Linked DNA regions of Homo sapiens: all the other regions are linked to region 3. The links are contacts of gene promoters, found by promoter capture Hi-C in blood cells and fetal thymus (Javierre and others, 2016). All regions are on one chromosome and are shown on one strand. Each heading gives the region's core, a stretch centred on a gene start or on the middle of the fragment in contact. The rest is flanking DNA. Distances are from core to core; before and after follow the strand shown. Region 1 overlaps EMC1 (ER membrane protein complex subunit 1). Region 2 overlaps PAX7 (paired box 7). Region 3 holds the start of IFFO2 (intermediate filament family orphan 2). Region 4 overlaps PAX7 (paired box 7).

What was found. Contacts are between HindIII fragments. The CHiCAGO score rates a contact against its expected background, and 5 or more counts as called.
Region 1: a fragment that was not itself captured here is called in contact with the fragment with the promoter of IFFO2 in region 3 in 3 of 17 cell types (fetal thymus, activated CD4 T cells and megakaryocytes); the score reaches 7.4 in fetal thymus.
Region 2: a fragment that was not itself captured here is called in contact with the fragment with the promoter of IFFO2 in region 3 in 1 of 17 cell types (fetal thymus); the score reaches 6.0 in fetal thymus.
Region 4: a contact is called between a fragment that was not itself captured here and the fragment with the promoter of IFFO2 in region 3, in 1 of 17 cell types (fetal thymus). The highest score is 8.8, in fetal thymus.

The regions. Positions count from the first base shown.
Region 1 is chr1:19,236,530-19,239,612 of GRCh38, reverse strand. EMC1 (ER membrane protein complex subunit 1) reads left to right here. Exons shown (of 23, transcript NM_015047.3): 9 at 311-382; 10 at 756-818; 11 at 1,474-1,596; 12 at 2,375-2,471. The region is part of intron 1 of EMC1-AS1 (EMC1 antisense RNA 1); the gene reads right to left. Among named protein-coding and RNA genes, the nearest start is that of EMC1, 13 kb to the left of the region's middle. The HindIII fragment of the contact is 1,117 bases long and covers 692-1,808 here.
Region 2 is chr1:18,658,622-18,661,477 of GRCh38, reverse strand. The region is part of intron 4 of PAX7 (paired box 7); the gene reads right to left. Among named protein-coding and RNA genes, the nearest start is that of PAX7, 29 kb to the right of the region's middle. The HindIII fragment of the contact is 3,395 bases long and covers 1-2,856 here.
Region 3 is chr1:18,954,980-18,957,959 of GRCh38, reverse strand. IFFO2 (intermediate filament family orphan 2) reads left to right here and starts at 1,284. Exons shown (of 9, transcript NM_001136265.2): 1 at 1,284-2,292. The coding sequence starts at 1,628. RefSeq lists silencers at 1,102-1,271, 1,842-2,101, 2,342-2,531. The HindIII fragment of the contact is 3,069 bases long and covers 1-2,980 here.
Region 4 is chr1:18,636,931-18,639,857 of GRCh38, reverse strand. The region is part of intron 4 of PAX7 (paired box 7); the gene reads right to left. Among named protein-coding and RNA genes, the nearest start is that of PAX7, 7.5 kb to the right of the region's middle. RefSeq lists enhancers at 2,056-2,673, 2,674-2,927. The HindIII fragment of the contact is 1,981 bases long and covers 366-2,346 here.

The DNA of each region.
Region 1 (3,083 bases), core at 1-2,500, 280 kb before region 3:
AAAACTAGTGCCTTCCTTAGTCCAAAGGAAATATGGGGACATAAATGAGAGCTTCCCCATAGATAGTAAGAACAAGCAGCATGGGATTTAAGATTGACCTGTGCCTGCGTTGGAGGTAGGGAGAGTTCTGTTTTCAGCTGTAGATGCAACTGAGGCCTCCCTCTGCTCTTAAATGCCTGACCATTCTGCTCCAAAGTGGGGAGCACTTTCAACTCTAAGGCCAAGGGCCTTCCCTGGAGAGGTGACCCTCTGTAAGGCAGCTGGCTAGTACTGGTCCCATTTAGGAGCTGATGCCTTGCTTTTCCCCCAGACTGCCCTAGTGAGCTTTGCCACCACTGGGGAGAAGACGGTGGCTGCAGTCATGGCCTGTCGGAATGAAGTGGTGAGTATTGAGAACAACAGTCAGCACTTGGGATTTTCCTTCCTGGTCTCCACTAGGAACCCTGAAAATCAGAAGTCTGGGCACATTGACCTGGTCAGTTTGAACCCAGCGGGCAGGAGGCTGTTGAGAAGTGAGGTCTTGCCTCAACTATAGAGCTTTCTGCACACCCCATTTCTCCCCAGGAACGAGACCCTAATGTGATGACCTTACTTTCATATGGGGCTATTAAGGGTTGAATAGGCTTTGTGGGCAGGGGTGAGAAATGAGCTTTGTCTTCTCTCAAGTGCTAAGAAGACAAAAACAAAAGCTTCATTTCAGTGACTGGGAAGTGACCCTTTGGCTGAATTTTCTCCTGTCCTTCTCTTTCTCATAGCAGAAAAGTAGCAGTTCTGAAGATGGGTCAATGGGGAGCTTTTCGGAGAAGTCTAGTTCAAAGGTATGGTGTGGCACTGGGCAGTATGCCAGACCTAGAGACGCAGGAGGCCACCAAAGAGAGTTGGGGGAAGAGCTTTGGTTAGGAGCAGGTCCTAGAGTTCCCAGCTTCAAATGAGGTTTCCTAAGTACTGTAAATTAAATGATGTTTCTCTTAATCTCATTTTACCGGGAGATTAGGAGGTAGAATCCCTAGAGTCTGTTTCTAGCCACTTTCTCCTCTGGGCCTCAGCGTCCCCATTTCTTTTGGGATCCTGGCTGGCACAGTTGAGTAGTACTCTGTGCAGTTACCCTGTAGCAGAGGCATGAGCCCCTGGCTGGAGGCATAGGTTCCTGCTGTGGCTTCCATCTAAGCGTTTCCCTGCCTCCTGTCTTGCTCAGTCTTACCTTGCTCAGCCCTACCTCTCTCTCAGAAGTCTCTGCTACTCTGTACTGGCTTCCAAGACAAGTATGGTAGTTGTAATTTCATTTATTTACTCAGGCACCTTATTTCTGCCTTAGGATTTAGCTTGCTTTTCTCTTTTATTCTCCTTTGCATATATTTCCCCTTCTGGCCTGGCTCCTTCTCTAGGGTATTTGCCCCCAATCCTTGGACTTCCTTTGGTGGGCTTTGCTTTCGGGGGATACCTGTAGTTGACACGTGCTGTCTGTACTCCTAGGACTCTCTGGCTTGCTTCAATCAGACCTACACCATTAACCTATACCTCGTGGAGACAGGTCGGCGGCTGCTGGACACCACGATAACATTTAGCCTGGAACAGAGCGGCACTCGGCCTGAGCGGGTAAGGCAGAGCCTTTCTTTGCAGACTGTCCTGTGGGCTTCTCAGCACATGGCTTCCTTTCCTCAGGGCCAGGTCTTAGCCATGGGGCTTGGATTAGGCTCTCTAAACATGTGTTCTAGTGCTCTCTGAGCCACTGACTTGTTAGAAGTCACAGTAAAGGCGGGTATTATTTATGCCAGCTCATCATTGTGCACCAGGGACTGTTCTAAGCTTTTAACTTACACATTAATTGATTTAACCCTCCAAACACTCTCATGAAGCGGTTGTTCCTGACCTGGTTTTAAAATGATTCTGTGGCCTGGTGGGATCGAGTACCATAGCCAGAGTCACGGAGCCAGTAAGAGGTGTCACTGCGGTTCAGATTCAGGTCTAACCCCACAGCCTGGACTCCTCATCACTACCCAGTATTGCCTCTGTGTGCATCTGGTTGTGTTCCTCAGCTGCTTGGGCTGTGGCTTCTTCGTTTCTAAAGCGGAAAGTCTAATCCCGGCCTCCTGCTCACTTTGTGGGGTGTGATTAGAGCATGGATGAATGGCGTGGTACCCGTGGAGTACTCAGGTTCTTCCATGGAAAGGTCTGGGAGACCCCAGCATCATTATGTTGGCTCCTAAGAATATGTATCACTTACTGGCATCCAGATAATAGCTACATTGTTTAGACATCAAATAATGCCATGGCCTGTACCTCTGTTAAGTCCAGGCTTTGACTCCTGGGGTCTGGTGCTCTCAGAGGCATTTGGATCCTCACTGACTACACCGGTCTTGACTGTGGCTTATAGCTGTATATCCAGGTGTTCTTGAAGAAGGATGACTCAGTGGGCTACCGGGCTTTGGTGCAGACAGAGGATCATCTGCTACTTTTCCTGCAGCAGTTGGGTAAGTAGACCTCATTCAACCCATTTTTTTATTTCCCCAGGCCTTCCAATGTGTTCCAATCAGACTGTTTTTTGGGAGGCTGCAGGTTTCTGGAAGAGATTCAAGTGGAGTGTGCCCTGAGTGTTTCGTTCATAGCCAAATGTCACCTGCTTTTTTTTTTTTTTTTTTTTTTTTGAGATAGAGTCTTGCTCTCTTGCCCAGGCTGGAGTGCAGTGGCATGATCTCGGCCCACTGCAATCTCCACCTTTCGGATTCAAGCGATTCTCCTGCCTCAGCCTCCTGAGTAGCTGGGATTACAGGCGTGTGCCACCACGACCAGCTAATTTTTGTATTTTCAGTAGAGACAGGGTTTCCCCATGTTGGCCAGGCTGGTCTCGAATTCCTGACCTCAAGTGATCCGCCTGCCTCGGCCTCCCAAAGTGCTGGGATTACAGGTGTGAGCCACCGTGCCTGGCCTGTCACCTGCTTTTTTTTTTTTTTTTGAGACGGAGTTTTGCTCTTGTTGCTCAGACTGCTGGAGTACAGTGGCATGATCTCAGCTCACTGCAACCTCTGCCTCCCAGGTTTAAGTGATTCTCCTGCCTCAGCCTCCCAAGTAGCTGGGATTACAGG
Region 2 (2,856 bases), core at 167-2,666, 300 kb after region 3:
AGTTCGATCCTCTCAGCCTCTGCATGCCCATCAAGGAGCTGGAGGAGGATTAAAGTCTAATCCAAGAGACGTGGACACACCAAAGGCAAGTTTGGGGTGGGAGGAGAGATCAGAAAGTTTCTGCAAAGAGGCACAGGAAATGTGAGTTTGAAAAAATAAAGACGAATTCATTTCCACCTCATGGACCCCAAAGCGGGACTCTCCCACAGCCCCTATGCCCCCTACTCCTCATGGCAACCCTTACACTGAAGGGAGGGATATCTGTTTGCCTGTCTACCCCACCAAGCAAGGGGGCCTCTGAGGGCAGGGATGGACCCACGTTGTTCTGTTTCAGCCAAGCTCTGGGTATTTATTTCTCAACAGAGATTTACTGATCATCTAACAACCACGTGTCAACTGTCTAATCCTCCATGCTTTGGCCCCCTCCCTATTCTATGCCCCCTGCTCTAGCATGCGTGTGTGCTTTTTACTTTCCCCTCTAGCACTCTGAAGCCCTTACACTCACTATTTCACTTCAGCCTTACAAAACCCTAACGAGCAAAGTAGCTTTTGCTCCATTTTACAGCCAAGAAAACCGAGGGTCAAGGGGAGGAAATAGCTCCTTATGTGCCCATTTCTCCCCTAACTCATCCTCCAGGTCCCCCACCCCCGTGAGTCCTCTCTCCCCTCCCTTTAGCCGCTGGCTCACAGGCCAGGACTGGGCCCCACCTCTGAGCCCCCTTCTGTTTTTTCACTCAGGATTCCTGAGCCCAAGGAGGCAGGCTTGTTTATAGCCCTGCCAGTCCTGGTGCCTTGGTCCCAGCTCAGGTCAGCTCTCTGGGGCTAGTAGGGGCTTTTGAACGTGGTAAATACAGGTTGCAGGGGTCAGGGGTCACAGCCCTTCCTAGGGGGAAGTTAGACTTGAATCATCCATGAAATAGTAATGCTCATCTTGGGGCGTGGAAGGGAGGCAGATTTCTTAAATTATGATGACTCCACAACAACCCTCCCTCCACCTCCCAGGCCTCAATCATCCCCCACTTTGGTTTCCCTGGAAGGACTTGGCATCTGGATTTTCCGTTTTCCTCCCTCCTAATTTTGTCCTTAAGCCAGAAAAAATAAGGTGTCTAGGGGAAGAGAAGAGCAGAAAGGAAGAGAAGAATGTGGCGTGTGTCAGAGGCCTGCTGTGTCCTGGGCAGAGTTGGGTTGGAGTGGTGTCACCTGTCTTCCACAGGTAGGGGGATGACTTGGCCAAAACCTCCCAGCCAGCAAGTGGCAGAGCCAGGATTCGAACTTGAGTTGGTCTAAGTCAAAGAGCCAAGCTCCAAATGGGAGGCCCATTTGGCCCTATCCTAGGGGCCCCTCCCCTGACAGAGGCTCCAATTTGGGAGCGTTGATAAGGAGGACACCCCAGGCTCCAGCCACTGGGCTCCAATTCTACCCACAAACGTGGACGAATTCCGACCTCCTACATCCATGCTTCCCCTCAACCACCCCACGCAAGGGGCAGATGCCGAAGGGTAAGGTCCTCGAGCACATGGCCCGCTGGGCTTTTCCCAATTCTTTTGCAGTCACTCTTCCCTTCCAACCCATTCCTTAACAAAGGTGGGAGGAGGTTGAGGCCGTTCCTTGTGACAGGTACCTGAGCCCCACGGACCTACGGGATTGATCCTTACACGCCAGGGGGTAGGGTGAGCAACAATCCCAGTCTGCCTGGGACTGAAGGCTTTTCTGGAATGTGGGACCCTCAGTGGGAAAACCAGGAAAGTCCCAGGCCAAATGGGACAGTTGCCTGCTACCAGGACTCAGAGGCAGGGTTCCCACCTCTCAGGCAAGAGCAGTTTTCCCTCCACCTGGCTACTTGCCTAAGGTCCTTTCCTTTCCACTCTCTCTTTCCCCAGGGGAAAAACCACCAGGGAAGGTGAGTACAAATGACCTCCCTGGCCCTGCTAGCAGGGAAGCTCCTTAGAAGGTGAAGGTAAATGGCATGGGTGGAATTCTCTACACCATGATCATTAGGGACACTCCCTTTTCAGGCCCCCTCAGTAGCACCCAAATTAAGACAGATGTGGGATTGGGAGAGAGGGAGGAAGAGAAGTGGAAAGGAGGGGGAGGGAAAGCCTTGCCTTCAATTCTCAGCAGAGGCCTGGCTGCCCCCTCCCCTTTCCTGCTCAGGTGTCTCAGAGAAGTTCTCAAGTTAGGGAGCATTTATTGAGCACCTGTTCTGCATATGGTATTGCACTGGCACTAAATAGGTGAGATCAAAGCAGAATAAAATGTAGTTGACTGGTCCTTGCTCTCAAAGAAGGTCCTAATCTGGTGCAGGAGCTGAAAACACAGAACAAAACTCACTAGGACAGTGAATCTGCAGTACACACACAGACACACACATACACACACATGTCACACACATGCTTATGTGCACACAGTCACATGCATGCACACAAATACATATGCACACACATATACATACAGGCATGCACACATTACACATGCATGCACACACAACACACACATACATATGTGTACACACACACATATACGTGCATGCACACACACATATGCACACACACTCTCCAGCTCAAATGAAGGAAATTTTGGAGTTTTGCATAACCCTGGCTTGTTTGAGCAAGGGTTCCCTTAGCATTGATAATGAAGAAAGGTTTCTCCCAAGGCAACTTCATGTTTATGAAATGTCAACCCCAGCCAGCTCTCCTACAACCTTGCCCAGCCACGTGTCCTTGGGGTCAGGCTTCTACCAGCAAACCTTCCTTGCAGAACACATTCTCTCTGAGCTGCCTGAGCCATAGTCAGCCGGGCAGAAGCCTGCCATAGAACTGGGGCTAAGATTTGCTTTTGGCTTTAACCCCTGTCCTG
Region 3 (2,980 bases), core at 35-2,534:
TCTGAAACATGCCACATATCTGGTTAAGTGCATACAATGCAAGCCACAGGCGTTCAAAGGTGGGGGTTCAAGGTGGGGGTCACCTCCCCTCTGAGGTTTGCGGTGAGGACCAAATGCGGAAATGGACACGAGGCCCGAGGCCAGCATTGTGGAAGGCCGGTTAGAGCATGCACTTTGGACCATTGTGGCTACTTAACGTCTCAGTGACCTTCTCTGTAAAATGGGGATAATAAATAAGTATGGCGCCTGACATATACTAATGTTTGCAACACGGTTCAGGAGACACCAGAGACTGGAGAACTTGGCCTTTAACGTGGTAGGTGTGAAAACATTTGAATGAATGAATGAATGAATGAATGGGTCCTCGGGTTGCCTCGGTCTGCCCCAGGCGGCCCGCTAAGCCCCATGTCTGTGAAATGAATCCCCAGCTCTCGGGGTCAGCTTCATCTCAGCGTGTGGGTGTGGGTGGTGGGGAGGTGCTGAGCAGCTCAGCAGAGGCGAGGCCCAGGCCGAGTTTGTGGGTGTCATCCCGGGAGGGTCTTGCTCGGCCTCCCCAACCCCCATGCTGCTCGGCTCCTCAGTGGGCGGGGGAACCAGCGGGCTTAGCTGTGCCCGGGCCGATCTCGAGAGGACAAGGCCCGCAGCTAGCATTCGAGGAGCCCACCCCCGGGTCCGCAGCGTGGGGCACGGGCGCCCTCTTATCCCCGAAAGGTCGATCTGGGCCTCCCCAGGCTAGAGTGGGGGTGGGGTGCCGATGCACCTTCGGATACTGTGGTCCCCCAGCCCTTCCAGCCGCGGTCGCGCACATCCGAAGGAATTTGGGGCCAGGGGCATTGCGGGCAGAGAGGACAGAGAAACGGAGCCCTCTCGGCAGGCGACGTGGGAGAGGAGCGCCCTAAAAAGTGGAAAGCGAGCGTTGCCGAGGCTGCTGGCCCCTTTAAGAGGCCCGGCTGGCTCTGCGGCGGTTCCAGCTAACCCGGTCCCTGGTGCAGCTCTGCGGTCCGGGTCCCCCAGCAGAGAATCGGCACCCGGCGGGGAGGCAGGACCAGACGCAGGAGAGGGCGTGGCCCCGCCGGGGAGCTGGGCGGAGTCTATGCTGCGGAGAAAGCGGGAGAACCCGGAGGTGGGCGGAGCCGAGGGTCTGTGGGTGGGGCCCGGCGCTGCGGGCCTCGTGGGGCGGAGCCTCGGGCTCGGGGAACGCCGCAGAGGGAGGAGGGGTGGGCGGGGCCGCGGCGGGGGCGGGGCCAGTGTCTGCAGTGGGCGGGGCCCGCCGCAGAAGGGGCAGTGCCGGCCGAGAGTCCTCTGCGTGCGGCTGCCGCGGCCCCTCCACAGCGTCTCTGACAGCCCGGGCGGTGAGACCCGCGACCCTTCTGGCCCCGCGCAGATACCGCGGCCTCCACCGCGTCCCGAGGAGCGGCCGAGTGCCCTCTCTCGCCTCGGCGCCCGCATCCGGGGCCATCCGTCCTGCCGTCTCTGCGGAGGCCGCATCTGGCGCGCATCTGGAACCGCCCGGCCGGCCGCGCTGGAGCCCGCGCCCACCCTGGCCCGGCCGCGCCGGGAGCCCTGCCCGGAGCTGGAGCCGCACCTGGAGCCGCGGGCCCGGGGCCCTGAGCCGCGCAGCCGGCGCATGGTGAACTCGCTGCTGTTCGGGGAGATGGCCTTGGCCTTCGGCTGCCCGCCGGGCGGCGGCGGCGGGGGCTGCCCTGGCGGGGGCGGCGGCGGCGGCGGGGCAGGGCCGGGTCCGTCGCCGGTGACGGCGGCGCTGCGGGACGACCTGGGCTCCAACATCCACCTCTTGAAGGGGCTCAACGTGCGCTTCCGCTGCTTCCTGGCTAAGGTGCACGAGCTGGAGCGGCGCAACCGGCTGCTGGAGAAGCAGCTGGAGCAGCAGCAGAGCGAGCGCGAGCGGCGGCTGCGCTACAAGACCTTCTCCCGCGAGCAGGCCGTGCAGACCGGGCCCGAGTTGCTGCGGCCCCCGGCGCCCGGCGGCGGGCACGGCCTCAGCAGTGGCGCGGCGGCCGGCGCCAACGCCAATGCCGTGGCCCTGGGCGGCCTGCCCCCCGGCGGCGGCTCGCACCCGCAGCACTACGGCCGCCTGCCCGGGACCATCTGGAGCTACACGCAGGTGCGGCGCACGGGCGGCGGCGGCGTGGAGACCGTGCAGGGCCCCGGCGTGTCGTGGGTGCACCCCGACGGCGTGGGCGTGCAGATCGACACCATCACGCCGGAGATCCGCGCGCTCTACAACGTGCTGGCCAAGGTGAAGCGCGAGCGCGACGAGTATAAGCGGAGGTGAGTGGCCGCCCCTCCCCCGCCGCCCTGGGACGGGGCGCCCAGGTCCAGGCTGCCGCGGAATGCGTATGCGGGACGGGGGCCGGGCGGGCAGCTGGTACTGGCAGGTGGGCTGGAAGCTGTGTTTGCAGAGCGTCTTACGTACGCCAGGAAGGCCCAGTTATCTAGATCCCAGGATGGGGGCGGGCGCTGGCTACCGTGGGGGCCACCTCGATGCTGTCACTGGTGAGGCACATTGTTTTCTAGGTGACATAATAACTGTCTGTGTTTTATGCGATCTCATTTAATTCTCAGCACAATACAGCGTATTGTGTAAGGCAGTCTTATCCTCATCTCGCAGATGAGGAAACCGAGGTGCAGAAATGCTAAGTGATTTGCCTAAGGTGGCTTGGCGAGTAAGTGGTGAAACCGGGATTTCAACCAGAGATTTTAACCACTCCTGGCTAGTCTGTCTCCTAGCATAAGTATTTTTACCAAGGAAGTAGGAAATATGCTCCCCTCCCTCAACATATGAAAAGAAAAACTCTAACCAACCCACTGCCTTTTTATTTCTTGAATTAAATGAGATCACGTTTTTGAAAATGGATGGATCTGCCCCTACCCCCTGGGGCCAGTGTCTGCCGTCTTGCTCCAGCTCTGTAAGGTCCAGCTTGCTGGGTTGGATAACCACAACTACAACAGACTGCTC
Region 4 (2,927 bases), core at 107-2,606, 320 kb after region 3:
GTCTGATCCGGTCAGTTTTGGCTTAAACTGGTGCACTGTCAGATGCATGCGGCTTTGGTGTTCTTATTGTTTGTCACTGCTGTTATTGTTTTTTATACTATTGCTTATTTCTTCACACTCACTCCCTCAGCTCCCACTGAGGAACGGTTTGACCCATTGCAAACCCCTATCAAATTCCCCACAAGAATCTCTCTGAGCTCAGATTCTATGAAAATCTTTTCCTTTCTCTTCTCTCCTCAAATCCCCTCCCTGTTGGGTCCCCGGCCTGTCTATCCCCTGATCCTCGGAGAAAGGGGTGAAGAGGAGGGAGTCTAAGTGCATGGGGGCAAGGAACTGTCCACTTCCCTTTCCAGGTGAGCCAAGCTTGACTGGGGCAAGCACCTATCGGCAACGGTCTGAGAATACTCACCACCAACAATCCTAATAACTCAGTCTTAACAAGGATAAGAGCAAAAAAAAAAATATGAACAGCCTCATGAATATCAGCCCAAGGGGAGCAGGAGTGAGCTGTTCAGAGATGAAAGTGCACAGAAATAAAAGCTCAATTTAATCTGCTTTAAAACCCTTCAACTTAACGTTTGTGCTTCAAACTCTGAGAGTGAGAACTGATTGCGGATAAATAGTTTCTTACCATGCCTGGAAGCTATTACACCCCTCTCCAACACAGTTTCCTATTCAGCAGTCCCAGTTTTCATTACCAGCTCTAATAAGTCTTAACATTATTAAATGCCAAGCGGACGATAGGAAAAAACGGACTCAGGGAGGGATCTCTCTTTAGTGCTTAAAGAGGAGAGCTCTTAAACCCCTTCTTTGGTGGCTCCCTGCCATGAGAGGGGCAACTCCCCCAGAGAAAGCATTTTTCAAGAGCAAGAAGCCAAAACAAAGTTGTGGGTGTGCACAACTCCCCCTGCTCTGGCCATGGGGCATCTCTGCCTCTCCCTACCTGGATTACTCGGATGGAGATTGGAAGGTCTTTTCACCTTTAACTTGGACATGAAACTGATGTCTGGGGCCTGGAAGAGAGATGAGGGGTTCACAGGGGTGCCTGCCGACCAGCCCAGGAACTCAAATAGGAAACGGATACAATTTGCTCACAGATGGATAGATGGCCCTCTCTCATCTGCACCATCATATTGCCCATTCACACCCATCTACACACTCCCTGCACATCTATGCTGAATCCCATTTGCACAGATATATGGCCTACAGCATTCAGATCAGAAGGCCCGTGGGTAAACAGTCACACTAAGAGATGCTTGCGCTTACACAGCCATTCAAAGCACAATCAGCGCACCCAGCACACCCACTGTCACGCAAAAACTGCGGGACTTTCTGGAGACCAGGCTCACTGCATAAGATCATTTCATTTCTTCAGCTCCTCTAGACTTAGCACCTGTGTCCTCAGCCTCCCCCATCTGGCACAGGCTCCACTTTAAACCCTTGGAGACGTGGTTCTTCCTGGTTCTGCTGCAGGGAAAACCTCTATCCAGCAAAGTGGCTTGTTAGCTGGTGTGGTGAGCACAGGCCAGCATGGAACGCCCCGCATTCCCTGGAATCAGAGGAATCCTCCAAACCGCACGATCTTTCCATCCTCTTCCTTTCCTTCCCTTCCCTTTTTTCTCAGAGGAAATTTACCTATTTGTGCTTCCTCACAGATTGAACTGGATATACTCCCTGCGTGCAAACACAATTAAAGTCTCTCCAAGGAAAACCAAACCTCCTCTGCTTCTCCCTGGGATAACCTCAGAAGAGTTGTTTGTTGTGCAGGAAAGATTATTTGTCCAGGAAAGATTATTCGAGTTCTATGCCTCCCCTCCACAACCCACAAAAAGTCCATCTAGTCTCCTTCCAATGGGAACTGAAATAAGGACTGGGTCCCCCGGCAGGTGTCCCAGGGCTCTGGGCCGACTGGCCTAGCCAAGGACCGCTTGGCAGTGCAGGGCTGCCTCCCGCCGCAGACCCGTGGCCCCTCGGCAGGCCGGGCACAGCGGGGCGCCCGGCACAGCTGGCTCCCTTTCTTCCCTCGCCCTTTTGTCCCGGGCGGGACTGCGGCATCACTAGGGGCCCTGTCTGTCAATGGCCGCCCCTTCCCTTCGCTCCAGGCCGCTGTCACACGGGGCTGCCCGGCCACCCATCCTTCCTCCTCGGACCACGCCTGTGGGGGCTGGGCGTAGATGGGAGTTGTCTTAGTAAGCCGGCTTTGTCTGTGAAGTTCATCTTCAAGGTTGGGAGGGTCTTCTGAGAACTGGAGAGAGACCTGGGCTAGGAGTGCTTGGGTCGTGAGGAGAGGGGTGCTGGGAGAAACCTCTGAAGGGAGACTGAAACAACACTGGCTTTTTGCAAGCTTTCAGGTTCCAGGGCACTCGCCACTTTTTCCAAAGCCATCAGTCTGCGGGTTCCCATGGCCACTGTCTTTCCGATTCCCTCAGCCTGCCGCCTCTCCGCGTATGTGTTTGGGGCCTTTTCTTTAACTGTCAGTCTTTGTGACTCTGGGTCTTCCATTTCTGTTTCTCTCCCTGTCGCCCCTTAACGTGCACTTACCAAGTCTCAAAGAGACTTAGGAGGGGAATTATGAGGGCAATGAGGAAGGGGAGGGGGTAATGAGGAAAAACTTTCCCTTCCTTCTCTCGAAACTTCCTCCCGTCAAGAAACAAAAGCACAATCCCCTTTCCCGGGCTTCCGGGCGCTTGAAAACTAAACGCCCTCCTTAGCTGATCCTGAGAAAAAGCATGGCGCAGGACTCAGACTCCAGCCTGCCCGCGGAAGCCGTGCTAAGAATGGGGAGAGGGTGTGTGGAGCCTGGGTCTCTCCCCCACTGCGATCCTCCGACCCTGGGCATCTGGGAACTTGGCCTCCACTCCCAGCCCTGCCGGCGCACGCCACAGAGGAAGGCACTCTCTGTCCCCCAGTCCGCCCTGGCAACGCGG